6 separate regions of the Homo sapiens genome follow, and regions 2, 3, 4, 5 and 6 are each linked to region 1. The links are contacts of gene promoters, found by promoter capture Hi-C in human tissues and cell types (Jung and others, 2019). All regions are on one chromosome and are shown on one strand. Each heading gives the region's core, a stretch centred on a gene start or on the middle of the fragment in contact. The rest is flanking DNA. Distances are from core to core; before and after follow the strand shown. Region 1 holds the start of PPP4C (protein phosphatase 4 catalytic subunit). Region 2 holds the start of CLN3 (CLN3 lysosomal/endosomal transmembrane protein, battenin). Region 3 holds the start of ATXN2L (ataxin 2 like). Region 4 holds the start of TUFM (Tu translation elongation factor, mitochondrial). Region 5 holds the start of RABEP2 (rabaptin, RAB GTPase binding effector protein 2). Region 6 holds the start of SPNS1 (SPNS lysolipid transporter 1, lysophospholipid).

The links. The method cuts DNA at HindIII sites, captures the fragments that hold promoters and counts their contacts. A contact is called where the count stands out against the background at its distance.
Region 2: a contact is called between the fragment with the promoter of CLN3 here and the fragment with the promoter of PPP4C in region 1, in 1 of the 25 tissues and cell types used here (spleen).
Region 3: the fragment with the promoter of ATXN2L here is called in contact with the fragment with the promoter of PPP4C in region 1 in 1 of the 25 tissues and cell types used here (spleen).
Region 4: the fragment with the promoter of TUFM here is called in contact with the fragment with the promoter of PPP4C in region 1 in 1 of the 25 tissues and cell types used here (dorsolateral prefrontal cortex).
Region 5: the fragment with the promoter of RABEP2 here is called in contact with the fragment with the promoter of PPP4C in region 1 in 1 of the 25 tissues and cell types used here (lymphoblastoid cells).
Region 6: the fragment with the promoter of SPNS1 here is called in contact with the fragment with the promoter of PPP4C in region 1 in 3 of the 25 tissues and cell types used here (dorsolateral prefrontal cortex, small bowel and spleen).

What each region holds. Positions count from the first base shown.
Region 1 is chr16:30,074,060-30,079,093 of GRCh38, forward strand. It overlaps PPP4C (protein phosphatase 4 catalytic subunit), which reads left to right and starts at 1,935. Exons shown (of 9, transcript NM_002720.3): 1 at 1,935-2,035; 2 at 2,256-2,416. The coding sequence starts at 2,319. RefSeq lists enhancers at 657-836, 2,459-2,548 and a silencer at 2,209-2,348. The HindIII fragment of the contact is 17,066 bases long and covers 1-3,397 here.
Region 2 is chr16:28,489,975-28,495,008 of GRCh38, forward strand. It overlaps CLN3 (CLN3 lysosomal/endosomal transmembrane protein, battenin), which reads right to left and starts at 2,100. Exons shown (of 16, transcript NM_001042432.2): 1 at 2,046-2,100; 2 at 1,740-1,861; 3 at 1,508-1,586. The coding sequence starts at 1,785. APOBR (apolipoprotein B receptor) reads left to right here and starts at 4,669. Exons shown (of 4, transcript NM_018690.4): 1 at 4,669-4,764. The coding sequence starts at 4,708. RefSeq lists enhancers at 1,982-2,771, 2,111-2,310. The HindIII fragment of the contact is 23,586 bases long and covers 1-5,034 here.
Region 3 is chr16:28,820,476-28,825,509 of GRCh38, forward strand. ATXN2L (ataxin 2 like) reads left to right here and starts at 2,524. Exons shown (of 22, transcript NM_007245.4): 1 at 2,524-3,083; 2 at 4,891-4,927. The coding sequence starts at 2,785. LOC124903672 (a long non-coding RNA gene) reads right to left here and starts at 3,567. Exons shown (of 2, transcript XR_007065042.1): 1 at 3,419-3,567. RefSeq lists enhancers at 1,803-2,539, 2,051-2,260 and a silencer at 2,581-3,730. The HindIII fragment of the contact is 10,837 bases long and covers 1-5,034 here.
Region 4 is chr16:28,845,082-28,850,115 of GRCh38, forward strand. TUFM (Tu translation elongation factor, mitochondrial) reads right to left here and starts at 1,267. Exons shown (of 10, transcript NM_003321.5): 1 at 1,137-1,267; 2 at 831-1,025; 3 at 233-399. The coding sequence starts at 1,188. It also overlaps a transcript of SH2B1 not described here. RefSeq lists an enhancer at 1,129-1,618 and a silencer at 5,014-5,034. The HindIII fragment of the contact is 27,203 bases long and covers 1-5,034 here.
Region 5 is chr16:28,922,620-28,927,653 of GRCh38, forward strand. It overlaps RABEP2 (rabaptin, RAB GTPase binding effector protein 2), which reads right to left and starts at 2,619. Exons shown (of 13, transcript NM_024816.3): 1 at 2,484-2,619; 2 at 1,784-1,996. The coding sequence starts at 2,544. RefSeq lists enhancers at 1,751-1,840, 1,871-2,100, 3,079-3,662 and silencers at 2,261-2,480, 2,511-2,860. The HindIII fragment of the contact is 23,237 bases long and covers 333-5,034 here.
Region 6 is chr16:28,972,625-28,977,658 of GRCh38, forward strand. SPNS1 (SPNS lysolipid transporter 1, lysophospholipid) reads left to right here and starts at 2,154. Exons shown (of 12, transcript NM_032038.3): 1 at 2,154-2,768; 2 at 2,868-2,933. The coding sequence starts at 2,528. RefSeq lists enhancers at 1,891-2,010, 2,091-2,200, 2,299-2,468, a cis regulatory region at 2,384 and a silencer at 2,421-2,510. The HindIII fragment of the contact is 29,978 bases long and covers 1-5,034 here.

The DNA of each region.
Region 1 (5,034 bases), core at 685-3,184:
AAGCCAGGCACGGTGGCTCAAGCTGGTAATCCCAGCACTTTCCGAGGCCGAGGAGAGTGGATCACCTGAGGTCAGGAGTTCGAGACCAGCCTGACCAAAATGGTGAAACCCCGTCTCTATTAAAAATGCAAAAATTAGCTGGGCGTGGTGACGGGTGCTTGTAATCCCAGCTACTCAGGTGGCTGAGGCAGGAGAATTGCTTGAACCCAGGAGGCGGAGGTTGCGGTTTGCCAAAATCGCTCCACTGCACTCCCGCCTGGGCGACAAGAGCAAGGAAGGCTCTGTCTTAAAAAAATAAATAAATGAAAATACAAAAATTAGCCAGGCGTCGTGGCACATGCCTGTAATCCCAGCTACTTGGGAGGCTGAGGCAGGAGAATCGCTTGAACCTGGGAGGCGGAGGTTGCAGTGAGCCGAGATTGTGCCACTGCACTCCAGTCGGGGTGAAAAAGCAAGACTCCGTCTCAAAAAAAAAAAAAAAAAAAAAAAAAGAGGCCGGGCACGGTGGTACACGCCTGTGGTACAGCACTTTGGGAGGCTGAGGCAGGTGGATCATGAGGTCAGGAGATCGAGACCATCCTGGCTAACACGGTGAAACCCCGTCTCCACTAAAAAATACAAAAAAATTAGCCGGGCCTGGTGGCGGGCGCCTGTAGTCCCAGCTATTCAGGAGGCAGAGGCAAGAGAATGGCGTGAACCCGGGAGGCGGAGCTTGCAGTGAGCCGAGATGGCGCCACTGGACTGCAGCCTGGGCGACAGAGCGAGAGAGTGAGACTCTGTCTCAAAAAGAAAAACGGAAGCAACTAAGAAATGTCAAGAGTGCCATTTTGGAATCAGAGAAGTCATGCTGACTGAGGCACAGGCTTGGCGTGGGAAAAGTGGACTCCAATCTGTTAACTTCTGAAGTTGTCCACGGCAAATATTTCTCTGACGGCACAGGAAGAGATCTGAACTTGGCTTCCCTCATCCATTGAACAAGTATTAACAAGTATCTATATATGCCTACCGTGCCAGGCCTTATTCTAACCACTGGGGCTGCAATATTTAAAAAGACAAAGTTGGATCCTCCAAGGACTGTGGTGGGGAAGGCTGACAAAACAAGTAACAAAAATGTGTAACATTAAAAAAAAAGTGTAATGTTAAAAAAAAAAAGTGTAATAAAGTTACAAAGCCTAGCCCCAGCTCGGCTTGTTTCCCTAGCTGAAATGGGGGATGGCCGGGCGCGGTGGCTCACGCCTGTAATCCCAGCACTTTGGGAGGCCCGAGGCGGGAAGATAGCTTGTGCCCAGGAGTTCGAGGTCACAGTGACCTATGATAGCCCCACCGACTCCAGCCTGAGCGATAGAGCGAGACCCTGTCTCTAATTTAGAAAAAAGAAAGTTGTGGCCGGGCGCGGTGGCTCACGCCTGTAATCCCAGCACTTTGGGAGGCCGAAGGGTGGTGGTGGGTGGGGGCGCGGATCACCTGAGGTAGGGAGTTAGAGACCAGCCTGACCAACATGGAGAAACCCCGTCTCTATTAAAAATACAAAATTAGCCCAGCGTGGTAGCGCATGCCTGTAATCCCAGCTACTCAGGAGGCTGAGGCAGGAGAATTGCTGGAACCCGGGAGGCGGAAGTTGCGGTGAGCCGAGTTCGTGCCATTGCACCCCGGCCTGGGCAACAGCAAAACTCCGTCTCAAAAAAAGAAAAGACAGTTGTTTAAACATTTTTATGAAATGATATGGGAGGGGACTGGTCTAGGGTTTCTAATAGCCTCCACATCGCCCAGCGGCAGAGCCCACAAAACTGCCACTGGCCGCCACCGGGTTCCTCCACCTCCTTCCCGATCTCAGGCTGGAGAAGTGGTGCAGGGGTCGCTGCGAAAGGAGAGGAGCGTGTATGACGCCACATCCGGCGCGCGGCGGAACTGGCCTCCTTTGCTTCCGCGGCGGGGCCGGAAGTAGGAGCGGCGGCGGCGGCGGCGGCGGCGGTCGAAAGCGGAGTGAAAGAGGGAGGCAGGGAGCCGGAGAGCCGGAACCGGAGTCGCAGCGGCGGTAATAGTGCGAGACTCCTCTAAGTCACCGTCCTTAGCGCGGGACCGCGGGGTTCGACGGGAGTTAGCGGGGGTGCGGCCAGGCCGTTGGACGCCGGGGGGTCCTGGGGCCGATGTGAGGGGAGGCGGGGGTGGGGGAGCCGGGCCGGCTCTAGAATCGAGTTGTCCGCTCCGAGCCCCGGACGGACACTGATCCGCGGGCTCGTCTTGGCCTTTCCCAGGAGACCCCTGTGCGGTGCGGAGGGGGCGGCGGCCCCGACTCTGACCCGCGCCGGGGGTGGGCCATGGCGGAGATCAGCGACCTGGACCGGCAGATCGAGCAGCTGCGTCGCTGCGAGCTCATCAAGGAGAGCGAAGTCAAGGCCCTGTGCGCTAAGGCCAGGTGAGCTCGTTGGCCCTGGGGAAGGGAGGCCAAGCCGCCGCCCACGGGTTCTGGCCTGGGGCAAACCCAACTGAGAACTTTGGGCTTGCCTCGTTCTGGAAGCTTTCCCAGAGAGGAGCAGGATGGAGCCGCTGCCCTCGAGGAAAAGCTAGCCTGCTCGGGGAAGACAGAGTGGATAAAGACACTTAAAGTTTATTAGACGATGTGTTTCCAGTGGAGTAAGAGTGTTACATAAAGTACTTAGGAAACTCAAGGAAACAAGTCCATCTGTCGGGGGACGGAAGCTTGTTGGAGGGGGGCCGAACTGTGGGAGAGGCCTCGAATAAGGAGGTGGTAAAAGAGTCAGCCAAAAACCAAAAGTTTAAGACAGGAAAGTTAAAGACCCTGTGATTTATAAAAGTCTTCTAATTACAACAACCCTTAAAGATTGGTGGTATTGTACTCATTTTACAGGTGGGAACTTTCATGTTCAAAGTTACCCACAAGTAAGGAATGGGGTCTGAAGCCAGCTCTTAGTGTCCTGTCCTTTTTCAGGCCATAATGCAAAAAGGTGGAGTTGGATCATTCACGTTCAGGGTGGGAGCCTGAGAAATCGTAGCAAGTAAGCCAGGGTAGAATTAAGCACGATAGGGAGGCCAGTTCAGAGTTCTGTGGGAAGTAGGATGATGTAGTGGTTAAGGCTCTAGGTTTTGCAGTGTGAGATGGCTCTAGGTTTGAATCTGAACTCTGCCGCTTTCTAGCTGTGTTAGTAATCTTAAGTGTCTTTATTTGTAAAGCAGAATTAATAGTACTTAATAAGATGATTGTGAAGATTCAGTGAGTTGGTGCTGGAGATGAGGTTAGCACAGTGTTTTGGTACAGCATACGTGCTTGATAATCACCAGGTATTCTATTTCTTTTGGAAGAGGGCAATAATGAGATGGGCTAAAGCCATCAGGGAGGGCTTTTGAGTGGAGGTAGGCCTTGAAGGATGAAGATAATTTGGCTAGCTGATGGAGGCAGGGCCAGTGAGGGAAGGGCATTCCAAGCAGGACGAATGTAACAGTGGAGGCCCTGAGATGCGTGGGGAACAGTCAGGGGTTTAATTACCTGCCTCCTCTGGGGAACTGTGTGATTGTGGCTTCTACCAGGCTGGAGAATTGTGGCAGAAGAGCCCACAGAATTACCCTACGTTTATTGAACAGTAAACATTGGCCTTTACAGGGCCACTATTTGGCCTGGCCCGGTACTGGCAAAAAACTTCTATCCATCTCTTCCCCCCAGCAATCCTATGAGGTTGGAATCATTTGCTGCATTTTATCGAATAGGAAGCCATGACTCGTAGAGGTCTGGTGACTTAACTGAGGTCACCCACTGAGGACGTGGCAGAGCTGGGTCCTGAATCTGTGGCCCTCAGGCTCTTTGCCTGGCCCTGCCTCACATAGACTACCTGCAGCCAGACAGGGCCTGTGAGGGGATGATGAGCAGGGTCGGCCTCTTTTTCGCCACCTGTCTGTGGCTTTTCTCTTTTGCCAGCTGACCAGACCAGCCCCATGGTGTTTTTAGTTGTCCCCTTTCCCTCAGTCCTGATTGGCATTTTTAGGAACTTAAACCTGTTGTTGCCTGGCACTATTCTTTAACCTCGAAGTATTGTCTCCCTCACGGGCCCTGGATCAGTGTGGTGGTGATGGTAGACAAAGCTTAGATAGCATGCTGGAGTTTGCAGAATAGCAGGAAGTCGTATATTCAGTCTCCATGGCTCCTTGCAACAGCCTAAGGAATACGCAGGGTGGGCTGAGTACTTAGCCCCATTTCATAGCAGAGGAAACTGAGCCTTTGAGTAGATAATGTCTTGCCCAACATCACGCAGCTAGTCGGAGGGGAAGTTAGTTTTGCATCCAGGTCTTTGACTGTGCTCCGTGGTCACTGAGAGCCAGGCAGAGGCATTTAGATTTTGATGTGGGGTGTGAGGCAGCAGGAAGCCATGGAAGGCTGAGGGGTGGAGGGTCCTGCCCAGTTGAAACTGAGTGGAACTAGGAGGTACTAGGCCAAGGCCTGAGTTGGCCGCTGTTGTCCCAGGCTCAGTCTGAAGCAGGGCCATCTCTGATACCTGGTTATGGCCTCCTGGGGACCCATCAGAGACCCAGGCTGAGGCTGGTGGTGTCAAGAGCACCAGCTTGCCTAGAGGGCACAGACATGCAGATGAAACCAGTGGAAGCACAGAGGTCCGCAGTGTCTGAGCTGAAATTGCTGCTACTAGAAATATTAGCACAGTAGGAGAGCTGAGCTTTTGAATCAGGTGGTCTTCAGTATGAATCTTTGCCTTGTCACCTAGAAGCAATATGACCCTCGTCAAGTCACTTTCTGATTTTTTGAAGTGATAATGACATGCAGTTGAGAGTCCGGGTATCCGGGCACAGGGCCTGCTGCGCTGGTAGCCGTTACTGCAGGCAGGTCCTGATAGGGCTGGGGAAGTGCTGCAAGTGGCAGAACTGGGGCTGGAATCTGGGCCTGATTCCCAGGCCACACTGGGGTTGCGCTGGCACTGAGGGGGGCTTTGCAGAGAGCACGGGCCCTGCATGTGACCTCCCTGGGCTTCAGGTTTTCACTCAGGGTCTGTGGAAGGGGCTGGCATAAAT
Region 2 (5,034 bases), core at 850-3,349, 1.6 Mb before region 1:
TGAACCCGAAAGGCGGAGGTTGCAGTAAGCCGAGATTGTGCCATTGCACTCCAGCCTGGGCTACAAGAGCGAGACTCTATCTCAAAAAAAAAAAAAAAAAAGGAGAGTGGTCACAGAGAGTTTCTGGGAGAGGCCTTGGAGGCTGGAAGTGAATCCAAGTCTGTGATCCCAAAGCCCCTATGTCAGGGCGGGGCACGGTGGCTCACGCCTGTAATCCCAGCACTTTGGGAAGTGGAGGCAAGCGGATCACCTAAGGTCAGGAGTTCTAGACCAGCCTGACCAACATGGTGAAATCCTGTCTTTACTAAAAATACAAAAAATTAGCTGTGTCTGGTGGCACGCACCTGTAATCCCAGCTACTCGGGGAGCTGAGACAGGAGAATAGCTTGAACCTTGGAGGTGGAGGTTTCAGTGAGCCGAGATTGTGCCACTGCTCTCCAGCCTGGGTGATAGAGTGAGACTCTGTCTCAAAAATAAAATAAAATTAAAAAAAAAAAAAAAAAAAGCTGGGCGCGGTGGCTCACACCTGTAATCCCAGCACTTTGGGAGGCCGAGGCGGGCGGATCACGAGGTCAGGAGATCGAGACCATCCTGGATAACGCGGTGAAACCCCATCTCTACTAAAAATACAAAAAAATAGCCGGGCGTGGTGGCAGGCGCCTGTAGTCTCAGCTACTCCGGAGGCTGAGGCAAAAGAATGGTGTGAACCTGGGAGGCGGAGTTTGCAGTGAGCCGAGATTGCGCCACTGCACTCCAGCCTGGAGGACAGAGAGAGACTCCGTCTCAAAAAAAAAAAAAAAAAAAAAGGTTCAGGCCCGGCATGGTGGCTCATGCTTGTAATCTCAGCACTTTGGAAGGTTGAGGTAGGAGGATCACTTGAGGCCACGAGTTTGAGACCAGCCCAGGTCCCATAGTGAGACCCCCATCTCTATAAAAAAATATAAAAATTAGGCAGATGCGGTGGTGCACACCTGTAGCCACACCTACTTGGAGGCTGAGGTGGGAGAATCACTTGAGCCCAGGAGTTCCAGGCTGCAGGGAGCTGTGATTGCACTACTGCATTCCAACCTGGGAAACAGAGCAAGACCCTGTCTCAAAAAGAAAAAAAAATAAGATAAAATAAAATAAATTAAAAAAATAAAAAAGTTTTAGTAGTGATGCATTTATTTAAACGTTCACTAGGAAAACGCTGGTTTTCCAAGTGGAGTCGTGATTTAAAGTTTTCTTTTTAAAAATATGTGCACTAAAAAACGTTAAGGCTGAATTGGCTGGAAGAAAAAAGTAAATAATCCTACAGGTGGTAGGTATGAGGATCTTGCTAAATCCGGAAGGTGATAAGGAGTGAAGTTTGGAAATTTTACATGCTGCCCCTGGGGCAAACCAGTGGATTCAGTAAATATTTGTGGGTTCAGCTCCTTTGCGCAGCTTAACTCTTTCTTCCCCCTTTCCTCCGGTCACTTCCCTCTTCTCATGCCATTGTCACTCGCTGAAGTCTCAGGCCACTCACCAGAAGCCCACCGCGTTCTTCCAATGCGCGCCCTGATGGTCCAACAGAGGGAGCCGGGGCTCCGGGACGGTCTCCTCCCCTGGGAGAGCGAGAAGAGGGCATGACCCCCACCTACTCTCAGGTGCACGACCGCTCCTTGCGTGTCCTCCCGGGGCCGAGTCAGCTCTCATTCCCCTCAGGTGGGCTGCGAGCCAGAGGTGGTCGTTCCATGAGGGTGGGCGGGAATACTCACCCTCGGAATCCGAAAAGCGCCGCCGCGAGCCTGCACAGCCTCCCATCGCATCAAGTTCAGGTCCCCCGAGGGTCCAGGGTCATAGAGTGTCCAAAGGGGGCTCCCACGGGAGGGATGAGGGTCTGCGACAGGTGACAAGGATCAACGCCCGATTGCCGGTCCCAGCTCCGGCTTGTCTAGGGCACTCGCGCCCCGCGATCCATCAAGGAAGCTGGGGGCTCCATCTCGAGCGCCCTACGACCCACCACGCCCCACCCATCGTACTCTCCCCCGCCCCGTCTACAGCAGGGACCCTGAGGCCTGTACCTTTAAGAGCAGCAGAATGTTCTGCACTATGCAGAGGCCGTTTGTCGGATCACGTGACAGCACCCGCGTGTTCCCCCATCACGTGCTCAGAGGTTTTCCCTACTTCCGGGTCCTCTCTGTCTTCGCTTTGGGCCTTCTCGGCTTCGGAGCGTGAAAAAGGGAGGGGCTGGAGAACCCTGGAACCGCAGGTTTTAAACTGGAGCGGGTGGGAGCAGCAAGCAGAGCCGTGACCTTAGATCAGTGGCGCCCAAGACCGAGACAGTAGCCTGCCAGCACCAGTTATGACTGTGGGAGGCTTCAGCTCCTTTCCTTCAGCACTCACTTGCCAGAAACAAATATGGCCACCTGCCTACTCCCTTTTTTTTTTTTTTTTTTTTGAGGCAGGACTGTTTCTGGTTGCGAACAAAGACGACCAGCTTCAGGTCATTCTTATCCCCATCTGTTGACCTTACAAATTGTTTTAGAGACCTAAGTAAACATAACACTCATCTAAAGGGATTTCGTGAATGATCTATTGGCAGTATCCAAGATGTTAAGAGATCCCTATTTCCAAATTATCCTAGAACCAAAAAATATCACAGCACTTCAACCCCTGGTGTTACAGATGAGAAAACCAAGGTACAAATATATATATATATATATATAACAAAATTAGCCGGGCATGGTGGCGCATTCCTGTAGTCACAGGTACCTTGGAAGCTGAGGTGGGAGGATCACTTGTGCCCAGGAGGTTGAAGCTACAGTGAGCTATGATCACGCCACTGCACTCCAGCCTGGGTGACAGAGTGAGATCCTGTCTCAAAAAAAGAAAAAGTAAAAAATAAAATAAAAAAAATATATGTATATGAAAAAAATTGGAAAGTTGCTGACAATCATTCATACAATGTTAGACCTAAAGGTGACCTTAGAGACCTGTATGGTGATAAGAAATAGAGCACCAGAGGCAGGGAGCCATTGGGTTGGCTCCAGGCTGCTGCAGGATTCCTGCCTCCATCAAAGGTGGTGCTTAGACCAGATTTTTTTTTTTTTTTTGACAGGGTTTTGCTCTGTTGCCCAGGCTGGAGTGCAGTGGCAGGATCTTGGTTTGCTGCAACCTTGACCTCCCAGGCTCAGGTGATCCTCCCACCTCAGCCTCCCGAGTAGCTGGGACAGCAGGTGCGCACCACTGTGCCCAGCTAATTTTTGTGTTTTTTGTAGAGACTGGATTTTGCCACGTTGCCCAGGGTGGCCTCAAACTCCTGAGCTCAAGCAATCCACCTGCCTTGGCTTCCCAAAGTGCTAGGACTACAGGCGTGAGCCACTGCACCTGGCCAGACTAAATGATTTTAAGGCCTAAGATTCTGATGCTGTGATTTCATAGAATTGCCCTAATTGGAATAGGAAAGTGGGGCTGGGGAGGGGAGAAGGAGGGTATGGGGAAGAGAAGTAGAGCAAGGTCACTTTATGTAGTTCCAAATAAGGAATCATACCCTTACCTTCTTCTAGGTGGAAAGCGGCATCCTGCATTCTCTTCTTGTCCTTGGCCTCATCTCTGCTATGGGCTGTGCCACCTCTATATGCTCTTTCTCACCACCAGGCCTTCAGAATGCAGTTGGAAATGTGCCCTCTCGTCTGGGTGTGGTGGCTCATGCCTGTCATCCCAGCACTTTGGGAGGCCAAGGTGGGCAGATCACCTGAGGTCAGGAGTTCGAAACCAGCCTGGCTAACATGGTGAAACCCTGTCTCTACTAAAGATACAAAAATTAACCAGGTGTGGTGGCACGCACCTGTAATCCCAGCTACTCGGGAGGCTGAGGCAGGAGAATCACTTGAACCCAGGAGGCAGAGGTTGCAGTGAGCTGAGACTGCGCCACTACACTCCAGCCTGGGTGACAGAGTGAGACTGTCTCAAAAAAAAAAAGAAAAGAAAAGAAAAGAAATGTGCCCTCTCTAGTGTGCCTCCCAGGTCACTCAGCTGATGGAAAATGGAATCCTACTAACGTGCAGGGCTCTAGAAATTCAGCAGCGTTTCATACATGGCATCTGCCATCAAGGAAGTCACAGGAAGGTGGGAGGCAGACACAGATATCCACAATATAAAGTTTAGCCAAGTTCTTTTTTGCAAGCCTAATCATAGGTGAGGGGATGCACCCCAGAGCCACCAATCCGGCCCCTTCCGCCCCTGGGGGAAGCATTAATGACGCCGAAATGTGTCAGAGCTCCCACCAGCCCCCTCTTCACTGCTACTCTTTCTTCCCAGGCAAAACAGGAACCACAAACCCCAGCTTCCTCTTGCAGAGTGGCTGTGGCTTGTAGGGGAGGCAGAAATGGCTGAGGTGCGGATACGAGACCTGAGTCACTTGAGCTGCTGTTGCCACATGTCCCCTCCCTCTCCCCCTCCCCAGTTCTAAGGTCTCCTGCTCCCACTTTGTCCTTTCTGGCCTCTTGCTTGTCCTTTATTTCCAAATGTGCACCTGAGTCCCCTGTGTGATGTACACCCATTTCCCGGGCTGCAGTGGGGGCTACTGTGGGCATCAGGGGCCGTGGGCAGGGCCTGGGGTGGGGACGCATCAGGGAGACAGGGGAAGAGGAAGTGCCTTTGGTCCTGGGGAAGGTTGGCTTGTCTTGGTGGGTGGGGACGGTCATTATCAGCTTTCTGGACACACAGACAGAGACAGACAGGATGGACTTCCTCCGGCTATACCTCCCTGGGCTGCACCAGGCCTTGAGGGGGGCACTGGTGAGAAGGGCAGACAGCTGCCAGATACTTGCACCCCATTCCCTGGGGCCTCACTTCCGGGCACCTCCCCTGGGGCCTCACCTTTCCCCTCCTCCTTCTGATCTCCTCAAACTGGAGATTGCTTTCTCAGGTTCAGGCAGACTCCTGGCCTAATATTTTCTGAATTTCAGTCCCCACCTCCAACCATGCGTCCTCGTACCCCTAATCGATGCCCCTTCTGGCTCCTTCTGCAAATCCTCTTCTTCTCCTTTCAGATCCCAGTACCCTCTT
Region 3 (5,034 bases), core at 1,274-3,773, 1.3 Mb before region 1:
GGGCTAAAACTCAGAATTTGAGTGTGGAGCAGGATGGGGTAGATGGAAGGGGGTTAGAGTGCTCAGTGCTCACAATCTGTCAATGAGGGTAGAGAGGTGGCATGGCATCAGGTGGTCCAGGTAATGCCAGGAAAAAGCTGGACTGTGTTTGTTAGGGAACCCAGGAGACATGATGACCTTTAAAACACCATTTGGGCTGGGCGTGGTGGCTCATGCCTGTAATCCCAGCACTTTCGGAGGTCGAGGCGGGTGGATCACCTGAGGTCGGGAGTTCAAGATCAGCCTGACCAACATGGAGAAACCCCGTCTCCACTAAAAATACAAAATTAGCCGGGTGTGGTGGTGCATGACTGTAATCCCAGGTACTCAAGAGGCTGAGGCAGGAGAAACGCTTGAACCCGGGAGGCGGAGGTTGTGGTGAGCCGAGATCGCGCCATTGCACTCCAGCCTGGGCAATAAGAACAAAACTCCATCTCAAAAACAAACAAAAAAACATCATTTGGATCCACTCACCTTACAGATATTTCATTGAGTGCCTGCAGTGTGCTAGAGTACTGCAGAGCAAGAAATAAGTCAAGATCCTAACCCTTAGGGAGCTGACATTAGCAGGAAGACAGAATTAAAGGAGCTGTTAGAATACAGTGGGATAAATTGCTCGGCGAGCACACAGGAGGGGAAACTAGCACATCTGAAGGCAGGAGCGAGGCAGGGCGAAGGACTATTACCCAAAAAGTAAGGCAGTGTTGTAGCTAGGTGTGCATGTGTTTGGTGCAGGGGCTGGGAAGAGTTCCAATGCTAACATTTAGAGCGAAGAGATTGAGACATTGAGAGTTTCGCTGGGATTAAGACCACATGGACTTAACAGCTCCACTCCATTCTCCACGTTGCAAAGAGTAAACCTTTAAAAATGCAAATCTGACCTCTTTTCACTTGTTTTTTTGTTTGTTTTGGGGGGAAGGAGTCTTGCTCTGTCACCCAGGCTGGAGTGCAGTGGTGCGATCTGGGCTCACGGCAACCTCCGCCTCCTTGGTTCAAGTGATTCTCCTGCCTCAGCCTCCTGAGTAGCTGGGATTACAGGCATGCACCACCACGCCTAGCTAATTTTTGCATTTTTAGTAGAGACAGGGTTTCACCATGTTGGCCAGGCTGATCTCAAACTCCTGACCTCAAACCTCCCAAAGTACTGGGATTACAGACCATGCCCAGCCTCTTTTCACTTTCTTAAATAAGCTCCCCACTGCTTTGAGGATAATGTCCGTGTCTCTTACAAGACTTGGGAGCCTTTAAAACCTGATCCCAGATTAGCTACCTCTTCCCCCCTTTAATTTTATGCTTAGGACAAGCTGAGTTTTTCTTAGTTTGTCATATCCTATTTCCCTGCCTAGAAACCCATCTCCCCCTGCCCTCTTATCAGTTTTTTTTTATAATTTAAATTTTTTTTTTTTTGTAGAGACAAAGTCTCACTTTGTTGCCTAGGCTGGTCTCAAACTCCTGGCCTTAAACGATCCTTCTGCCTCGGACTCCCAAAATGTTAGGATTACAGGTATGAGCCACTGCGCCCGGCCCTCCTGTCCCTTATCTGGGTCTCCCAAAACTGGATTAAGATTAGGTGTCACTCCCATTTGCTCTTGTAGTCCTCTGTGCTTCACCTACTAGATCTCGTCAAATTCTCTGAATTCACCACTAGCATGAACTCCTCCAGAGCAGGAAGCAGTTTAATTATCCTTGTGTCCAAAACAACTAACTGAATACTCCAATGCCCAACTCATTTTGAATGAATGAAGCTGCCTTCATTGCAGGGTCGGGTGGAGGATTTTGAACTCGGAACTTTGGCCTTCAGTCTTTGTTATTACAGTTTAAAGATTCATTCTCGGGCATGGAGGAACAATTTAGGTCAAAATCACAAAAATCTGAAATAATTTAGGACGAGGCGTAAATTTATCTGCAAAGATCAACACGCTCAAACGAATCACTAATGCTCATCAGTCTTTTACTTAAAGCAAACAAGGTGGAGGGTAGCTCCTTGCGAAACCTACCACCTGCCTAAAAGCGCAGTGGCTCGGGTGGTCCAGTCCCGGAGACTTTCTTGGCACTTAAGGCTCTGCCCACGGGCCGCCAAGTGGCGGAAGAGCCTCACGCACGACGTGCCGCCTCACACTCCCGCGGAGGCATCGCGACGCAGCGACGGCGTGGGCGGAGAGGCCGGCCCTTCCTCTGGCGCCTTCGGCTCCTCCCCCTGCGCCTCACACGCTCATTGTGAAGCGACAGCGGCCGCCGGCTTCTAAGGCGGTTTGAGACCTTAAGACCCTAAATCCTTGGCGCGCGTGAGCGCCCGCGCCGCTCCTTACCCACTCCCAGGGCTAGGGGTGCGAGGTTCACCGACTTGATTCTCTCCCACTTTCCCGCCGGGAGCTAACCGCGCCGGTGTGCGCGGCACCTCGCGCCACTGCTCGCTCCTGGCCCCCCCCCCCCCCCCCCCCCCCCGGGAGCTCCCACCCGCGCGCTCCTCCCTCTCCGCTCCCCGGCGACGCGCACGCGCGCCAGCCCGGCTCGCGCCCTCTCGCTTTCCTCCAGCCGCGAGACCCCCTCCCCTTCCGCCTCGCGGCGCTTCCTCGCGCCGCGGTCTTCTCTCTCCACCCCCGACACCGCGGGGCTCCCCCCGCCCGCCCACGGCGGGCCCCGGCTGCCCGATCCCCCTCGCTTCCCGCGCTCTCCAGCGGGGCCCCAGCCCCGGCCCCCTCTCTCCCTCCCTTCTCTCTAATTCCCCTTCCGGACGCTGCCATCATGTTGAAGCCTCAGCCGCTACAACAGCCCTCCCAGCCCCAGCAGCCGCCCCCCACGCAACAGGCCGTGGCCCGTCGGCCCCCCGGGGGCACCAGCCCTCCCAACGGCGGCCTCCCGGGGCCGCTGGCCACCTCTGCGGCTCCTCCCGGGCCTCCAGCGGCCGCCTCCCCCTGCCTGGGGCCTGTGGCCGCTGCCGGGAGCGGGCTCCGCCGGGGAGCCGAAGGCATCTTGGCGCCGCAGCCGCCGCCGCCGCAGCAACACCAGGAGAGGCCGGGGGCAGCCGCCATCGGCAGCGCCAGGTGAGAAGGGTGGGCTCCGGGCGAGGGAGCCGCGGCCACCCAGAGGCTGTGGCTCGGTTCCGGTGGGGCGGACCCCGACCCGGCACCGTCAGGGGCACCGGCTGGGTGGGGAGTCCCCGTGAAGCTGGGGGAGGGCCCCCTCAGGTCCGAACAGGTCGGACGGAAAGGGTCCCCGGGCGGCCACCGGAGCACTGAGGGGCCGCGCTCGGCTCTCGGGGCCTAGTCAGGGCTCGCAGCCCCGGCCTTCAGGGGAGGCGGGGCGCATCCCGCCGGCGCCGTCGGAACGGGGAGTTGGGGGGGGGCAAGGAGCTGATCGGGGTCCCCGGTTCCATTACCACGAAGGGTCTCGCGGTCCCCGGCTTCAGCCAATGGGGAGTCTGCTGCGGGAAGGGGTCCCCGGCCGTAGCCAATGGAGGGGGGCGCGCGGCCCACAGTTTGGCCAATGGGGAGGGAGGGACTTGGGAGCGGGTTGCTGCCTCCCCCTTCCCGGTCTGGCCAGTAGGAGGGGAGCGAGGTGGGCGGGGGGACGGAAGGAGGGATGACTGGGAGGACTGCGGGCCGGGAGCCTCTGGCGCGCGCGCCCCCTTCCCGTACGTGCGCGTGGATGCTCGGTCTCATGACCCGGGCATTCGCGCGCCCCGGGAACACCTAGGGCAGGGACTAGTTCGTGGAGGGGCTCGTCTGGTGGCAGTGCATGAGTAGTGGAGGCCCTGCTCAGTTTTTCCTGTGCGAGTGTGTGTGTGTTAATGGAATTAAGAGTGGCAGCACACGCAGGCGCAGTGGGCTCTGATCGCTGGAGGTGGGGGTTCGGAAAGTCCCGTGGGTTTTAGTGCGCAGGCGCAGACCGGGCGAGGCCTCCCGGTGGATGGCTTTTGCGGCTGCGCTGTCCCCCAGCCCCGCCAGCGGCCCCCTCTTCGCCCTCAACCGCCGGTTACATCAGCCAGCGACGAGCAGGGTTACCTGGCGATTGGTGATCCCCGCAGAGTGGGTAACGGGCTGAATGAGTCATGAGGTCGAGGGGATGGGGTGTGGAGGGGATACCCCTCCTCCCACAGTTTTGAGGCGTCAGGCTGCTGAAAATGATTGTCTTTTCTGTTTGGGAGGTAATGTACCTGAGCTAGGTAGTTCCAAAGCTGCACTCCTGGAGCTTTTGCCCTCACAGCTGGCGTGGCTTTTTGGTTAATACTGTAGCATTGATCTGTTGGTAGCCTGCAGCCCTAGCCCCTTTCTCGTTGGTTCTTAGAGCAATTGACAACCATTGTTGATTGAGATCTTTTTGCTGGCATTTGGAGGAAATGTGTTTGCTGGCTTATTAATGTCTATTTTTTTCTTCCTCTACAAGGTGACAGTTTGAAAATCTTATTTATTGGCCGGGCGCAGTGGCTCACGCCTGTAATGCCAGCACTTTAGGAGGCAAAGGTGGGAGGATCCCTTGAGCCCAAGGAGATCGATACCAGCCTGGGCAACACAGATGGGAAATCCCATCTCTACTAAAAATTAAAAAAAAAAAAAGCCAGGAGTGGTGGTTCGTACCTATAGTCTCAGCCACTCGGGAGGCTGAGGCAGGAAGATCACTTGAGCCTTGGAGGTTGAGGCTACAGTGAACTGAGATCACGCCACTGCACCCCAGCCTGGGCAACAGAGGGAGACCCTGTCTCAAAAAAAATAGAAAAATCTTACTGATTAACAATTTTGTAGTCTAAATCAGCATCATCAGGTGGTATATACTTCTAGGATTTAACATTAATTTCATAGTGGTCTAAGAGGGCTTGAACAGACTTAAGTAATTTCTTGTTTTCTTTTATAGGGGACAGAGCACAGGAAAGGGACCCCCACAGTCACCTGTGAGTGTCTTCTCCCACCCTGTTTAAGATACATAGACCTAAAAGATGCATAATGTGGGAATATAGGGCACATTAGGTCTAGATAGAGTCTAATGTACTCAGGAGGG
Region 4 (5,034 bases), core at 17-2,516, 1.2 Mb before region 1:
CCAAGTTCAACGAGCTCTTCAGTTCACATCCATATAGCCAAGTGTAGCAGTTAGAAACTCAGGCCCACCTTTCTCTACCATCTCCTCACCACCCATTCTGCGTGGCCAAGACCACAAACCTGCCATCTCATACCCAAACACTGAATATCTTAATCTCCTCCCCACAAGCCTAACATTTATCCTGACAAGAGGCAGCTTCTGGCCCTGTCTCCAGTGTCCCAGCAACCCTCACCTTAACATAATCTGCATGACCCGGGCAGTCTGTGTGGGCGTAGTGGCGGGCGGCAGTGCTATACTCCACATGAGCCGCATTGATGGTGATACCCCGAGCTCGCTCCTCCGGGGCATTGTCAATCTCCTCGTACTTCTTGAACTTAGCCCCACCTCCCTCAGCTAGAACTAAAGGAGGAAAAGAACACACCTCTCAGCTAAAGTTCCAGTGCTAGAGGCAGAGCTTAGACCACGCCCCTGAACCCTCCCACCTAAATACATAACCTCCTCCAATCTCTAACTCTTCCAGCAGAGAGAACTGTGGGTCAGAAAGAAATGTTAGAGGGCCTTAAGGGTCTGCCCTGTGACTTCTTTAGGGTACAGCCTCTGCTTGCAGAGCATTCCCCACGACTTTGTGATCCCCAAGCCATTGGTGGATCACAAAGTTCTTCCTGTTCAGGAGAAATTTGTCTCTTGCATCTCCCAATCCACCTGTCGCACAAATTCGGGCTCTTGGGGCCACAGTAAACTCCTCCAGCAGACACTCTGCTGGCCTTGCCTCCCTGGCTCCAGGTCCCATCAGTAGATAGGGCGCTGCTGGACGCCCCAACCCCACTCACTCTTCGTGATGGCTGCAGTCAGCGTGGTCTTCCCGTGGTCCACATGGCCGATGGTACCCACATTCACATGTGGCTTGTCGCGCACGTAAGTCTTCTTGGCCTCCACGGCCAGGCCGCGGCACAAGAGAGGCAATGCCGGGGCTTTCAGCAGCCGCAACAGACCCTGCAGCAGGAAGGTCCGGCCGGCGGCGAGACCTGCCGGGACCGAAGCTTGGAGTCAGGCAGGGAAGGGGTCAGACCGAACCCAGCCACCTACCACTCCCCCAAAGTGTTCCTGGGCCGCCATCGCCCTCCCTGACCACTCACCGCTGAAGTGGGGCGTCGCGCGCAGCAGGGTGGCGGCCGCCATTGTGGTCATACTCGCGCCCCGGTAACCGGGGAGCCGGGACCAGGAGCCCGAGCGCACAGAAGAAGAAGGGCGCCTGCGGCTGGAAGGCACTTCCGGCGGAAGTTAGAGCTGGGAGGGCAAGTCCGGGCCCCTCTAGCCGCCAGTGTCTATGGCCGTCTCAGCCGACGTCGGGCGCGCGGCTGAAGACGTCATGGAGGGGGCTGGTGTCTCGAGGGCGGAGTATGATGGAGAGGTTTTCCACCACTCGCGCCTCTCGGGCTGAGGGGCAACGTAGTTCTCTCTGGCGGTCGCAGGGGGCACTGAGGAGCGTCCCCTAAATCACCGGCGCCGCGAAGGCTCATGGGCGTAGTAGTTCTCAGGTCGGCGGGCTGTGGAGGTGATCAGAGTGGGAGTCAGGCGGGCTAGGCCGGACCCGGAGGGAGGGGCTCGGGCTCCGGGAGGCAGCTGCGGCTCCGACTGCTCAGGAACCTCCTCCTGGGCCCGGCAGAGAGAGACCCCGAGTCCCCCGGAGTCCGACTCGCTACGCGGGTCTTGCGAGATATCTGGCCGCCTCTGCCGCAGCTGGAGGTAGGGGACCAGGTCCTGGACGCCTTTCGGGGATGGGGTGAAGTGTGACCTCCCTCTTCGCTGAGACTTTGTTTTCTAATCTGTAAAATGGGAATAGTAGTATCCACTTCATAGGGAGAGCCTGACATCTAGCCCTGAGAGGAGATGAACTGGGTAGGAGTCAGTGTTGGGCCCTGTGAGGTCAGGCAGCTTGCGGGGACCCTGTACTGCTAGACCTCACAGGGCCAGAGCCCACAAGACAGACAGCTTCGCTGCCCACCCCTGTAGTCCCTCAGCAGCCTAAGGAGCAGTTCCGTTGGGCATCGCCCCACCCATCTAATTTTGCAGATGAGGAGCCAAGGATGAGGAGCCAGCTAGGGGAGCCTTTAAGGGGAGCCTGAGTCTCCTTTAATCTGTCGGTGTCCCCAGCACCTAACAGGGTGGAGCATGCAGTGAATGTTGAATGAATGGGTGCAAGGGTAGTCAATGTCCCTTAACTTTCACATCCATCATCTCATGGCAGCTTCCACAGGGCACTCCAAAGTGTTAATTATGGCTGCTTAACCCTGGCTAATGTTTCGGAACTCATCAGATCCTGAGACTCAGTGGACAGTGTTTGTTTCAAATAGATTCCCTAATTCCTCCCCTGGAGGTTATGATTCCGTGGGGTCTATGCACAGACTGGGAAGCTATATAACAAACACTCTTCTAAAACTGAGAAGAGGCTGGGCACGGTGGCTATAGTGCCAGCCTATAGTCCCAGCAGTTTGGGAGGCTGAGGTGGGAGGACGGTTTGAAGCCAGGAGTTCAAGACCAGCCTGGGCAGATTAGGAGACCCTATCTCTACAAAAAAAAATTTAAAATTAGCCAGGCACAGTAGCATGCAGCTATAGCCCCTCCTACTCAGGAGGCCGAGGCAGGAGGATCGCCTGAGCTCAGGAGTTCAAGGCTGTGGTGAGGTATGATCATGACACTGCACCCCACCGTGAGTGACAGAGAAAGACCCCATCTTTTTTTTTTTTTTTTTTTTTTTTTTGGAGACAGAGTCTCACTCTGTCGCCCAGGCTGGAGTGCAATGGGGCGATCTCGGCTCACTGCAACCTCCACCTCCTGGGTTGAAGCAATTCTCCCACCTCAGCCTCCTGAGTAGCTGGGACTACAGGCATGTGCCACCACGCCTGGCTAATTTTAGTATTTTTAGTACAGATGGGGTTTCACCTCGTTGGCCAGACGGCTCTCGAACTCCAGACCTCAAGTGATCCGCCCATTGTGGCCTCCCAAAGTGCTGGGACTACAGGCGTGAGCTACCACGCTCAGCCAAGAAAGACCCCATCTCTATAAAAATATTTTGGCCAGGCGTGGTGGCTCACACCTGTAATCCTAGCACTTTGGGAGGCCGGGCGGGTGGATTGCTTGAGTTCAGGAGTTCGAGAACAGCCTGGGCAACACGGTGAAACTCTGTCTCTACTAAAATACAAAAAATTAGCTGGGCGTGGCAGTGTGCACCTGTAGTACCAGCTACTCAGGAGGCTGAGGCAGGATAATTGTTTGCACCCGGGAGGCGGAGCTTGCAGTGAGCTGAGATGGTGCCACTGCACTCCACCCTGGGCGACACAGCGAGACTCCGTCTCCAAAAAAAAAAATTTTTTTTCAAATGAAAACTCAGAGGAGTTTAGGAAACTCTGAACTAGAGCTTTATGATGTTCAGGCATTCCTATTGTTTCACAATCAGCGCTCCCAGTGCTACCCTGGGTAGTAGGAACTATTATTTCCTCCATTTTGCAGGTGTGAAAACTGACGGTCAGGGTGATTAAGGAATCCACCACCACTAAACCCCAAAAAGTGTGCACACCGCACTGTCCTTTTTTTTTTTTTTTTTTTTTTGAGACAGAGTCACACTCTGTTGCCCAGCTGGAGTGCAGTGACACGATCTCGGCTCACTGCAACCTCCATCTCCCAGGTTCAAGCGATTCTCCTGCCTCAGCCTCCCGAGTAGCTGGGATTACAGGCGCCTGCCACCACGCCCAGCTAATTTTTGTATTTTTAATAGAGACGGGGTTTCACCATATTGGCCAGGCTGGTCTTGAACTCCTGACCTCAAGTGATCCACCCACCTTGGCCTCCCAAAATGCTGGGATTATAGGTGTGAGCCACCATGCCCAGCCAGACTGTACTATAATTTAACTCTCATTTTACTGCTCAGATAAAGTGAGGAACTTGCTAAGACTTCTCTCTTCCTGGCCCTCCAGTTAATCAGTTCTGCTTAGGAAAGGCTGGTATCATGTGTAGTATAAACAGATTTTGTTTTTGTTTTTTTGACAGAGCCTTGCTGGGTCTCCTAGGCTGGAGCATAGTAGGGCAGTCACAGCTCACTGCAGCTTCAGCCTCCCAAGCTCAATCTACCTCAGCCTCCCAAATAGCTGGGATTACAAGCATACACCACCACACCTGGCTAATTTTTGTATTTTTTGTAGAGATGGGGTTTCGCCATGTTGGCCAGGCTGGTCTCCCAATACCGGGGCCCAAGCCGTCTGCCCACCTTGGCCTCTCAAAATGCTGGGATTACAGGCATGAGCCACTGTGCCCAGCCTAAAAGGGTTTTCTGTTTCTACTCTGTACCTAAGTCACTGTACTCCTAGGAATTTATCCTAAGACACTATTGGCCACTAGCAAGTTATGAGTTTTTGGGGGTGGTATTTGAATTAATGGTTTATATTTTTGTGGTGCTATATTTATTTTAATGTGTATTAGCTTGAAAAAAAACTGGCATAATAATCAAGTTTTTAAAAAAACAGATCAACTTAAAAGAATATTGTTTGGTAGATAATATTATGGATGCACTGGGCACAATGGCTCACACCTATAATCCCAGCACTTTGGGAGGTCGAGGCAGGCGGATCACTTGAGGCCAGGAGTTCGAGACCAGCCTGGCCAACATGGTGAAATCCCGTCTTTACTAAAAATACAAAATTACCTGGGCATGGTGCACGCCTGTAGTCTCAGCTACTCAGGAGGCTGAAGCAGGAGAATCGCTTGAACCCAGGAGGCGGAGGTTGCAGTGAGCCGATATCACGCCATTGTACTCCAGCCTGGGTGACAGAGCGAGACTCTGTCTCAAAAATAAAATAAAAACTATTATGTGTGGTATGAATATATGGCAAATTTTTTGGAAGGTAGTGAATGAATGGCTAGAGTTTGAGAAACACGGTGTTCGGAAAAGAGCCCAGAGAAAATTTTTTCTAGAGCTGTTGACCGTAGCATCCTCTGTATTAGTGAATGGCTCAGTCAGAAGTCTTGACTTACAGATAA
Region 5 (5,034 bases), core at 1,369-3,868, 1.2 Mb before region 1:
GAGGCTGAGGCAGGAGAATAGCATGAACCCGGGAGGTGGAGCTTGCAGTAAGCCAAGATCACACCACTGTACTCCAGCCTGGGCGACAGAGTAAGACTCCATCTCAAAAGAAAAGAAAAAAAAAATTAGCCACGTGTGGTGGCACACGCCTGTAGTCCCAGCTACTTGGGAGGCTGAGGAAGGAGAATCGCTTGAACCCGGGAGGTGGAGGTTGCAGTGAGCTGAGACTGCACCACTGAACTCCAGTCTGGGTAACAGTGAGACACTGTCTCAGAAAAAAAAAAAAATAGGTTCAGCTGTTAGGCTGCTTGGTTTCCAACCTTTGGCTGTTTTCCAGCTATATGACCTTGGGCAAGTTATTTAACCTCTCCGGGCCTCAGAGCTTCCTCTGTAAAATGGAGATGGGTAATAGTTCCTGCCTCACAGAGTTTGTTATGAAGATTAGTTACTCATAAAGCATTTAGCTCAGTGCCTGGCACATAGTGAGTGCTCAAAACATGCTACCTGGCCAGGCGCGGTGGCTCACACCTGTAATCCCAGCACTTTGGGAGGCCAAGGCAGGCAGATCGTTTGAGCTCAGGAGTTCAAGACCTGTCTGGGTAACATAGAGAGACCCTGTTTCTACAAAAAAATACTAAAAATTAGCCAGGCATGGTGGCATGCACCTGTAGTCTTGGCTACTTGGGAGGCTGAGGTAGGAGGATCTGCTTGAGCCCAGGAGGTGGAGGTTGCAGTGAGCTGAGATCACACCAGCGTGCTGTGACGCACTCCAGCTTGGGCGACAGAGTGAAACTCTTATTGACTCAAGAAAAAAAAAAAAAGCTAGCTATTGTTATTATTTAGGACACACCTGGCTTTTCTTATATAGTAGATATAACAAGTTTCCCTTAATAAATGTATGTAAACTTTTAAAATGTGGATCTATTTAAAGAACAAATATTAAGTAAACAGCACAGTAAGTTGTACAAGGATGTGTCTACATTGCACAGGCAGGTGGATCCTGAAATGTGGGAAATACAGCCCCAGAGAAGTCTCCAGCCACCAGCAGCTGTTAGAAAGGGAAATCGCATGTTGGGAAGGGAATTTTAGGAAGTTTACTCTGGAAGCCAATGTCAAGGCCACACTATAGAGGAAGATCTGTGAGAAGGTTGGGACAAAAGTCCAGGAGAGAGTTGACGAGAGCCCCACCGCAGCAGGGGCATAGCAGCGGGGGCAGCTCTGACATCTGTTTCAGAGTCTCTGGCTTCTGCTAGAGGAAGGAGAGTAGAAAACAGGATCAGCAGCTGGGGCGTCTGGGGCCAGAGGACCAAGTACAAAGAACGTGGGGCGGAGGTGGGGAAGCTGGTGCATGGCGTGGGGTGGAGGGGGGAGTGTCTGGGGAAGGCTAGAGAGCAGAGCATTAGACTCACAGAGACTGGGCCAGGGCTGATTCTATTTCCCAGAAGTCCAGACTAAAATGAGGTTGGTTTGGGGAACTGAGAAGTTTCTCGCCCATCTTCAGGGTTGATCAATCATCAGTGAGGGACAAGAAATGACATGGGACAAGGCAACAGATAGAAGCTGGGAGCTAAACTTAGCTATAACTGACAGAGCTGCTGCTATCACATGGAGGGCCTCTATGCAAATTTTAAAAGGGCGGCCCTTCCTCTGGGCCATAGGCATGCCCTGTGCCAGGCAGCCCTGCTAACCTATCCCATAGCTTATCTGTGCCCCCAATCCCTTTCTCGTCATGCACTCCCCAGTATGGGGTTGATGGGGAGTCTAGGTGAGTCCCGCGTCTCACCTTTCAGGATGGCCTGCAGCGAGGCCACCTCCTCTTGGCACTGCCGCTGCACCGCAGCCACAGCCTCGGCCTTCGTGCTCTCGCTCACCTCTGCCACAGCCTTCATGGTTTCCATTTCTGCCAGGGCGCCTGCCAGCTCAGCCCGAAGCCGGCTGAGCTCACCTGACTCGGCCTCACCATTTGCCCCTTCCTGGGACCGGGAGTCCTCCAGTGCTGTGGGGGACAGGGATCAGCCTCTCTTCCCATCTCTTACCCCAGGCCACCTACCGGCTTAGCAAGTCCTGCAACCTAGTACTGTTGCCTTCATCTGGGGCCTCCTTCACCTGGGCCCGCCCGGCTCACCTGGCCCCGCCCCTGCCCCGCCCCCTTCCCACTCGCTCTGCCGGGTGCTGCCTACACTCCATCTCTTCGCGGTGGCCAGTTTCACTCAGTCCTCTCTTCGGTCCCACCTGGCCCCGCCCTCCTAGTGGCCGCGCCCCTTCCTCACCGGGCCCCACTTCGCACCTGTCACTGGCCCTACCCCTTCAATGGCCGGGCCACGCCCCCTTTTGCCTGTGGCTGTAGGCCCCGCCCCCTTTCCCGACGGCGTGGCCCCGCCCCTTCCTCCATCATCCCTCTCCACCCCCCATCCGCAGGTGGCTGGCTCGGCCCCGCCCCCAGCATCACCGTTCCCCGCTTGCACGGACGCCCCCTCACGTACCAGCCCCCGGCCGCCGCCGCCGCTCATCGTCGTCCGCGGCCACCGGCGCAGCTGCCGCCATTGCCTCAGCGCAAACGGCGGATTCCCGCACTCCCTGGTGACGGAGCGCACCGCTTCCGGGTCCTCTCGGCTGTTTCCGGATCCGCTCGGCTGTTTCCGGATCGGCCCCGGGCTGGAGGCCCCGGACGGAGGATGGGGGGATTGCCGAGCCTCGGCCGAAGATTCCCGAGTCGGCCCCCGGCCCCGGCCCCGGCCCCGCCCCGGCTCTTCTTGGCTGGGTCGCGCGGTTCGGGAGGACGCCTGCCTTTCAAGCCCGGAAGAGGATCCTTAAGAGGTCTTGCCCGGCGTCTCTCCGTGACCTTGGAAGCCCTGCTCCAATTATGCCTCCTCCGGGACACCGGCCTGCGGAGAGCTCCCCCTCGCTCCCTCGCTGCCCCTGCCCGGAGCCAGCCTTTGATCGGCTCCGGCCGCCCTTCCGCCCGAGCCTGGCTTGCGTTACCGCGAATTGTGGCGGGGCCCTCCCTGCACCTCCGCCCTCTTGGAGCGTCCCTCGGGGCAGGGCCGGGTCGGCTTCATTTTTCTGAGCGCCTCGGAGTCCCCGCGTAGTTAGTCGGAGTCTGAAACTTGCACGTCCCCACCCCCATTTTGTTACTCAGCCAGTCACCGCTTCCTGCTGGCCCCCCTTTCCTCCTCCCAACGCCCTCAAATCCCTCCTCTCCTCTCCGCCTGTGTCTAGATCAGGCTCTTTATCTGTGACCTCCACCCGGACGGTGACAGGCAATTCAGATTTATGTCCAGAGCCTTGGTTCCCCTTCCCTCAAACCTTTTTTCCCTCTGTAAAGGACACGCCAGGAACCTGGAAGTCCTTGATTCTACGTGTCCTCCTGCAAGTCCCGTAAACTCTACTTCCAATGTGCTGACTATTCCAGAATGTGCCCCTTTTTCTCCATCTCCAGCGCTAACACTCCGTCCCAGCTCCCATCACTTCTCCTGAACTTCCGCAGTGTCGACTCCACCCTTTAATTAATTAATTCTCCGTAAAGCAGCTGGAGCGATTTTTGTAAAACAGATAATGCAGTTTGAAAATGGCCAAAGGTAGAACGCTTTTACACTGTTGGTGGGAATGTAAATTAGTTCAACCATTGTGGAAGACAGTGTGGTGATTCCTCAAAGACCTAGAACCAGAAATACCATTTGACCCAGAAATCCCATTACTGGGTATATACCTAAAGGAATATAAATCATTCTATTACAAAGATACATGCACGAGTATGTTCATTGAAGCACTATTCAAAATAGCAAAGACATGGACTCAACCCAAATGCCCATCAATGATAGACTGGATAAAGAAAATGTGGTACATATACACCATGGAATACTATACAGCCATAAAAAGGAACGAGATCATGTCCTTTGCAGGGACATGGATGAAGCTAGAAGCTATTATCCTCAGCAAATTAATGCAGCAACAGAAAGCTAAACATGCATGTTCTCACTTATAAGTGGGAGCTGAACAATGAGAACACATGGACACAGGGAGGGGACCAACACACATGGGGGCCTGTGGGGTGGGTGTTGGGAGGGGGGAGGGAGAGCATCAGCAAGAGTAGCTAATGCATCCTGGGCTTGATACCTAGGTGATGGGTTAATGGGTGCGGTAAACTACCATGGCAGATGTTTCCCTGTGTAACAAACCTGCACATCGTGCACATGTACCCCAGAACTTGAAATAAAGAAAATGGACAAAGGATATGAACGGATATTTCACTGCTGTCACAGGTGGCAATATGTGCATGAAAAGATGTTAAACATCATTAGCTATTTATTCGGGAAATACAAATTAAAACCACAATTGCTTTCATCACTACGCACTTCTTGGAATGGCTAAAATAAGAATGCTAACACCAAATGCTGGTGAGTATGTGGAGAAACTAGGTTTCTCATATTTTGTTGATGGGAATGTGAAATGGTATAGCCACTCTGCAAAAAGAGTATGGCAGTTTTGAACAAAACTAAACACGCACTTACTTTTTCATCAAGTATAAAACCAAGTGTTTTCCACCAAGCTTGGAGCTGAGGTCTCGGCTCAAATGTTACCTCCTCAGTGAGGCCTTCCCTGATCACCCTAACTAAAATAACCACCTCTGGCTGAGTGTGGTGGCTTATGCCTATAATGCTAGCACTTTAGGAGGCCAATGGCAGGAGGATCACTTGAGCCCAGGGGTTCGAGACCAGCCTGAACAACATAGTGAGACCTCATCTCTACAAAAAATTAAAAAATTAGCTGGGCATGGCCGGACACGGTGGCTCACGCCTGTAATCCCAGCACTTTGGGAGGCTGAGGAGGGCGGATCACGAGGTTAGGAGATCAAGACCATCCTGGCTAACATGGTGAAACCCTGTCTCTACTAAAAATACAAAAAATTAGCCGGGCATGGTGGCATGCGCCTATAGTCCCAGCTACTTGGGAGGCTGAGGCAGGAGAATTGCTTGAACCCGGGAGGCAGAGGTTGCAGTGAGCTGAGATCATGCCATTACACTCCAGCCTGGG
Region 6 (5,034 bases), core at 904-3,403, 1.1 Mb before region 1:
ATGGAGTCACTCTGGTCCGAACGTCTCTGACAGTTCATTCCTTTTTCTTGTTAAGCTATTCCCGTTGTATGAATAGATTATGCCCCTGTTGATGGACATGTGGATTCTTTTCATTTTTGGGCTATTATGAATAATGCATTTATGAACATTCATATACAGGTTTTTGTTTGGACACGTTTTCATTTCTCATTGGTGGTTACCTAGGAGTGGAATTGCTGGGTCATATGGGAAGTGTATATTTAATTTTTATTTATTTAGTTTTTTTGTAGAGATGAGTCTTGCTTTGTTGCCCAGGCTGATCTTGAACTCCTGGGCTGAAGTGATCCTCCCACCTCAGCTTCCCAAAGGGCTAGGATTACAGGCATGAGCCACTGTGCCTGGCCAAAAACACAATTTTTAAAATGGACAAAAGAGCTGGGTGCAGTGGCTCACACCTGTAGTCCTAGCATTTTGGGAGGATGAGGTGGGAGGATTGCTTGAGTTCAGGAGTTCCAGACTAGCCTGGACAACATAGCGATAACTCATCTCTACAAATATAAAAATTAAAATGACACTGGGCATGGTGGCTCACCCCTGTAATCCCAGCACGGTGGGAGGCTGAGGCGGGCAGATCACTTGAGGTCAGGAGTTCAAGACCAGCCTGGCCAACCTGCTGAAAGCCCATCTCTACCAAAAATACAAAAAATTAGCCGGGTGTGGTGGCACGTGCCTGTTATCCCAGCTACTTGGGAGGCTGAGGCACAAGAATCGCTTGGACCCCGGAAGTGGAGGTTGCAGTGAGCCGAGATCCCGCCACTACACTCCAGCTCCAGCCTGGGTGACAGAGCAAGCGTCTGTCTCCAAAAAAAGAAAGAAAGAAAAAAAAAAAGAGTTCTTTACATGGATACAAGTCCTTTGGCAGATAGATGCTTTGTAAATATTTTCATTCAACCTGTGGCTTGCCTTTTCACTTCAGAGGTGCAATTTACAATGCGTATCACTCTCTAGATAAGCTCCACGAGGGAAGGGAGTAAGTCTGCCTTTCCCTGAAACCTGGTAAAATGCCAGGCACATACATGTTCAATAATATCTTGTTGAGGGAATTAAATGCCTGCAACCTGAAGTTCCTGTCCGCCAGGGGAAACCAAGCTTAAGGTTCTGAAACACGAGGCACCTAATATGGGGGGGGGGGGGGGGTTAAAGCCAATTATGGGTATTCGGACTCGAAATAGTTTCTAACAAGGCGTTTTGGGGTTGGGGGATGCTCTCCCCACGAGATTCCAGGATTTCAGTAGAGGGCCTTTAAGGGCTGGTTGAAAGATGGGTCTTGAAGCTGTATTTGCACAGAACTATACTAATTTTACTTAGAGTGCTTTATTAGATGTAGCTTGGAGATTATAGGGTGCCACTAAAGAACCACTCCCAAGTTATCCCTTTGACCCTAGTCCTGCAGCTGGGAGTCTCCTTAGGCTAGGAGCTCCTGCCTGCCCTACAAAAGCCCACCGGAGGGCGCAAGGGCTCCAATCCCGATTGGAGTGAGGAAAAATATGCTCCAGGAGCGGCGGGTGGAGACGCTTCCTTTAATAGGTATTTAAGTGTCCACGGTGAAGGCTCAGGAGTTTACAAGGCTAGCAGGGTTGGGGAATCTCAACAAAGGGCGGGGCGTTGCTCAAGCTCCATCCGTCCGTCCGTCCATCCCTCCGTCCCTCCAATCCTCCATCCATCGCGCTGCTCAAGCTCCATCCATCCATTTATCCATCCATCCATCCATCCTTTATTGAGAGTAAAAAGCCGCCAACCAGACCCTGGGAGGAAGACAGGATGGTTCCCGAGAACTAGGGCTGCTCCTTGGCTTTTAGAGGTATCTACTACTTCCAAAACCTTTTGAGACCCCATTATCCCGTTTGATGAAGATGGAGTCTGCCACGTGGGGGTTCCAGATAAGACAGCTGAGATTCGGAAGGGCAGGCGACTCCACCTAGTCACGGGGACGCTCTTTTTGACGCTCCAGGGACCGCAGGGTCTGGGAAAGTTCCTGGTTACTCCGGCGACCGGCCGGCCGTCACATGACATGTGAGCCCGGGCGGAACGCCCAAGAGGCTTCCGTAGTCGGGTGGCAGGTCACGTGTCGAAGGCTTGCCCGCGGGGACCCCTTCCACCCTGGCTCCCGCGTCACATGACCGGCTTTAAGCAACATGGCGGCTGCCGTGGTGCAGCGCCCGGGCTGAGCGACAGCAAGTGCAGCGGGCTCCTACCCCGGGTGAGGGGTGGCCTCCGCGTGGGATCGTGCCCTCTTCAGCCCGCTCCTGTCCCCGACATCACGTGTATTCCGCACGTCCCCTCCGCGCTGTGTGTCTACTGAGACGGGGAGGCGTGACAGGGCCCGGGTCCCTTCTCAGTGGTGCTCTGTGCTTCAGGGCAAGCTCCCCGTCTCCGGGCGCACTTCCCTCGCCTGTGTTCGGTCCATCCTCCTTTCTCCAGCCTCCTCCCCTCGCAGGTGGGATCGTCGGTGGGACCGGAGCGCGGGCGGGCGCGGCCCCCCGGGACCATGGCCGGGTCCGACACCGCGCCCTTCCTCAGCCAGGCGGATGACCCGGACGACGGGCCAGTGCCTGGCACCCCGGGGTTGCCAGGGTCCACGGGGAACCCGAAGTCCGAGGAGCCCGAGGTCCCGGACCAGGAGGGGCTGCAGCGCATCACCGGCCTGTCTCCCGGCCGTTCGGCTCTCATAGTGGCGGTGCTGTGCTACATCAATCTCCTGAACTACATGGACCGCTTCACCGTGGCTGGTAGGGACTCACTTCTGGGAGGAAGATAGTCTAGGAGAGGGGAGCCAGGGTCCCGAGGGTGGCGCTGCTTTGCCGGACCATCCTGAATTTTCTCCTCAGGCGTCCTTCCCGACATCGAGCAGTTCTTCAACATCGGGGACAGTAGCTCTGGGCTCATCCAGACCGGTGAGTGGGGACCACTCCTGGTCACACAGCCGCTCCTCCTTCTGTTCTGTCTCAAGTGGGGCCACGCGCTGGCCTGTCTAGGGGCTCATTAATGGAGGTTTTGTGGCCAGTTAGGGGAGGTGATGGCCCTGATGTTGCTCGGGGGTCAGCGGGACACCACATTTAAAGAGGGAGTCAGTTTAGTATAACTAAGTATAACTTCACCCAGGTGAAGACAGACCTGGGTTTAAATCTCAGCTCTTCCACTTATTGTGTGATGGTAGGCAAGGCACTCAACCTCTCTAAGCCTCATTTTCCTTGTCTATAAGATGGAACAAGTAATAACACGAATCATCTCTTAGGACTGATGTGAAGATTAACTAAAAGATTGTCTGTGAAGGGCCTAGTGCAGTGTTTGGCACATGGTAGACACCCAGTAAATAATGGCAGGAGGGTTGGGTGTGGTGACTCACGCCTGTAGTCCCAGCACTTTGGGAGGCCAAGATGAGTGGATCACTTGAAGTTAGGAGTTCAAGACCAGCCTGGTCAACATGACGAAACCCCATCTGTACTAAAAATACAAAAATTAGCCAGGCATGGTAGCGAGCGCCTGTAATCCCAGGTACTTGGGAGGCTGAGGCATGAGAGTTACTTGAACCCGGGAGGCAGAGGTTGCAGTGAGCCGAGATCGCACCACTGCACTCCAGCCTGGGTGACAGAGCGAGACTCCATCTCATAAATAAATAAATAAGTAAAGGCAGGAGAGGGTGTCTGGAATGGGGAGAGGTGTGTTTTACTTGTTCACAACTTTGGGACTTGTGGGAGAGGCAAAGCTAGAGCCAAGCCCTTTTTCTTCCTTCCATCCTTCATTCATTTCTCAACCATTTCTGAGTACTCATTGTGTGCCAGGCCTGGAGGAAGTGATGATTACACCTGTAGGACTTTGCGAAGAACTTTTATGCCCCTTGTCTTCTAATCCTTCTATCAGTCAAAAATAGGTGTTACTGTTCCTATTTTATAGAGGAAGTAGGTAGTGATATCTACAGCTTATAAAGAAACTGAGGCTTGGAGAAGAGTTAAGACTTGCCCAGGGTCACACCACCAGTTGGAGGCGGAACAGGAATTTGAAACCAGGTCTTGCAGTGTTCTTTTCTCTACTCCAGGCCAATGAGGAACTGGAGGTATTTGAGGTGAAGTCTGGAGCAATGAGAATGGGATCATAGGGCAAGGTCTTCAAACCTCTGAAGAGTTGTTGAGTTAGAGCAGCAGCTCTTTCTAGGCAGCCGGATTTATTCACTCTCTTCACATGCTTATTGAGCACCTGTTTTGCACTAGGCTGTGTGTTAAGTAAGTGAAAGAAACACAGTCATGGCCAATACAGGCAAGGACCTTGCCTTGGGAGCTGATAGTACGCTATGCATGAGGCAGCAACAGCCAGTAAAACGCTAAACTAAAGTGGGACAGTTTTCCCATAGGGATAAGTGTTATGTAACAGAAAACAGTCCAGGCGCTGTGGCTCACACCTGTAATCCCAGCACTTTGGGAGGCCGAGGCGGGTGGATCACGAGATCAGGAGATTGAGACCATCCTGGCTAACATGGTGAAACCCCATCTCTACTAAAAATACAAAAATTAGCTGGGCGTGGTGGCACGCCCCTGTAGTCCCAGCTGCTTGGGAGGCTGAGGCAGAATTGCTTGAACCTGGGAGGCGGAGGTTGCAGTGAGCTGAGATCGCGCCACAGCACTCCAACCTGACAACAGAGCGAGACTTCGTTTAAAAAAAAAAAAAAAAAAAAAGAGAAAAAAGTAAATGTGAGAGTCAGGTACTGGATGTGTGCTCACCTGGGCAGCATGCTTCACCCTTGGCCCTGGGCAAGTATCTGAGCTGGAACCTGAAGGAACTATGCTCTGTGAAGTTTCAGGGGGAGAGGAGAGAATGTCCTTGATAGAGGAGGCAGTAGGTGCCTAAACCCCTAGTGGTATTGGCCTTGACAATTGGGCCATTGGGATGCAGACAGAGGAAGGGAAAAAGGCTGGCCATGAGTGTGGAGAGGTAGGCAGGGCCTAGATTGGACAGGGGCATTGTGAGCCATGGTATGCATGGAGTTTGGAGCTTGTTTTG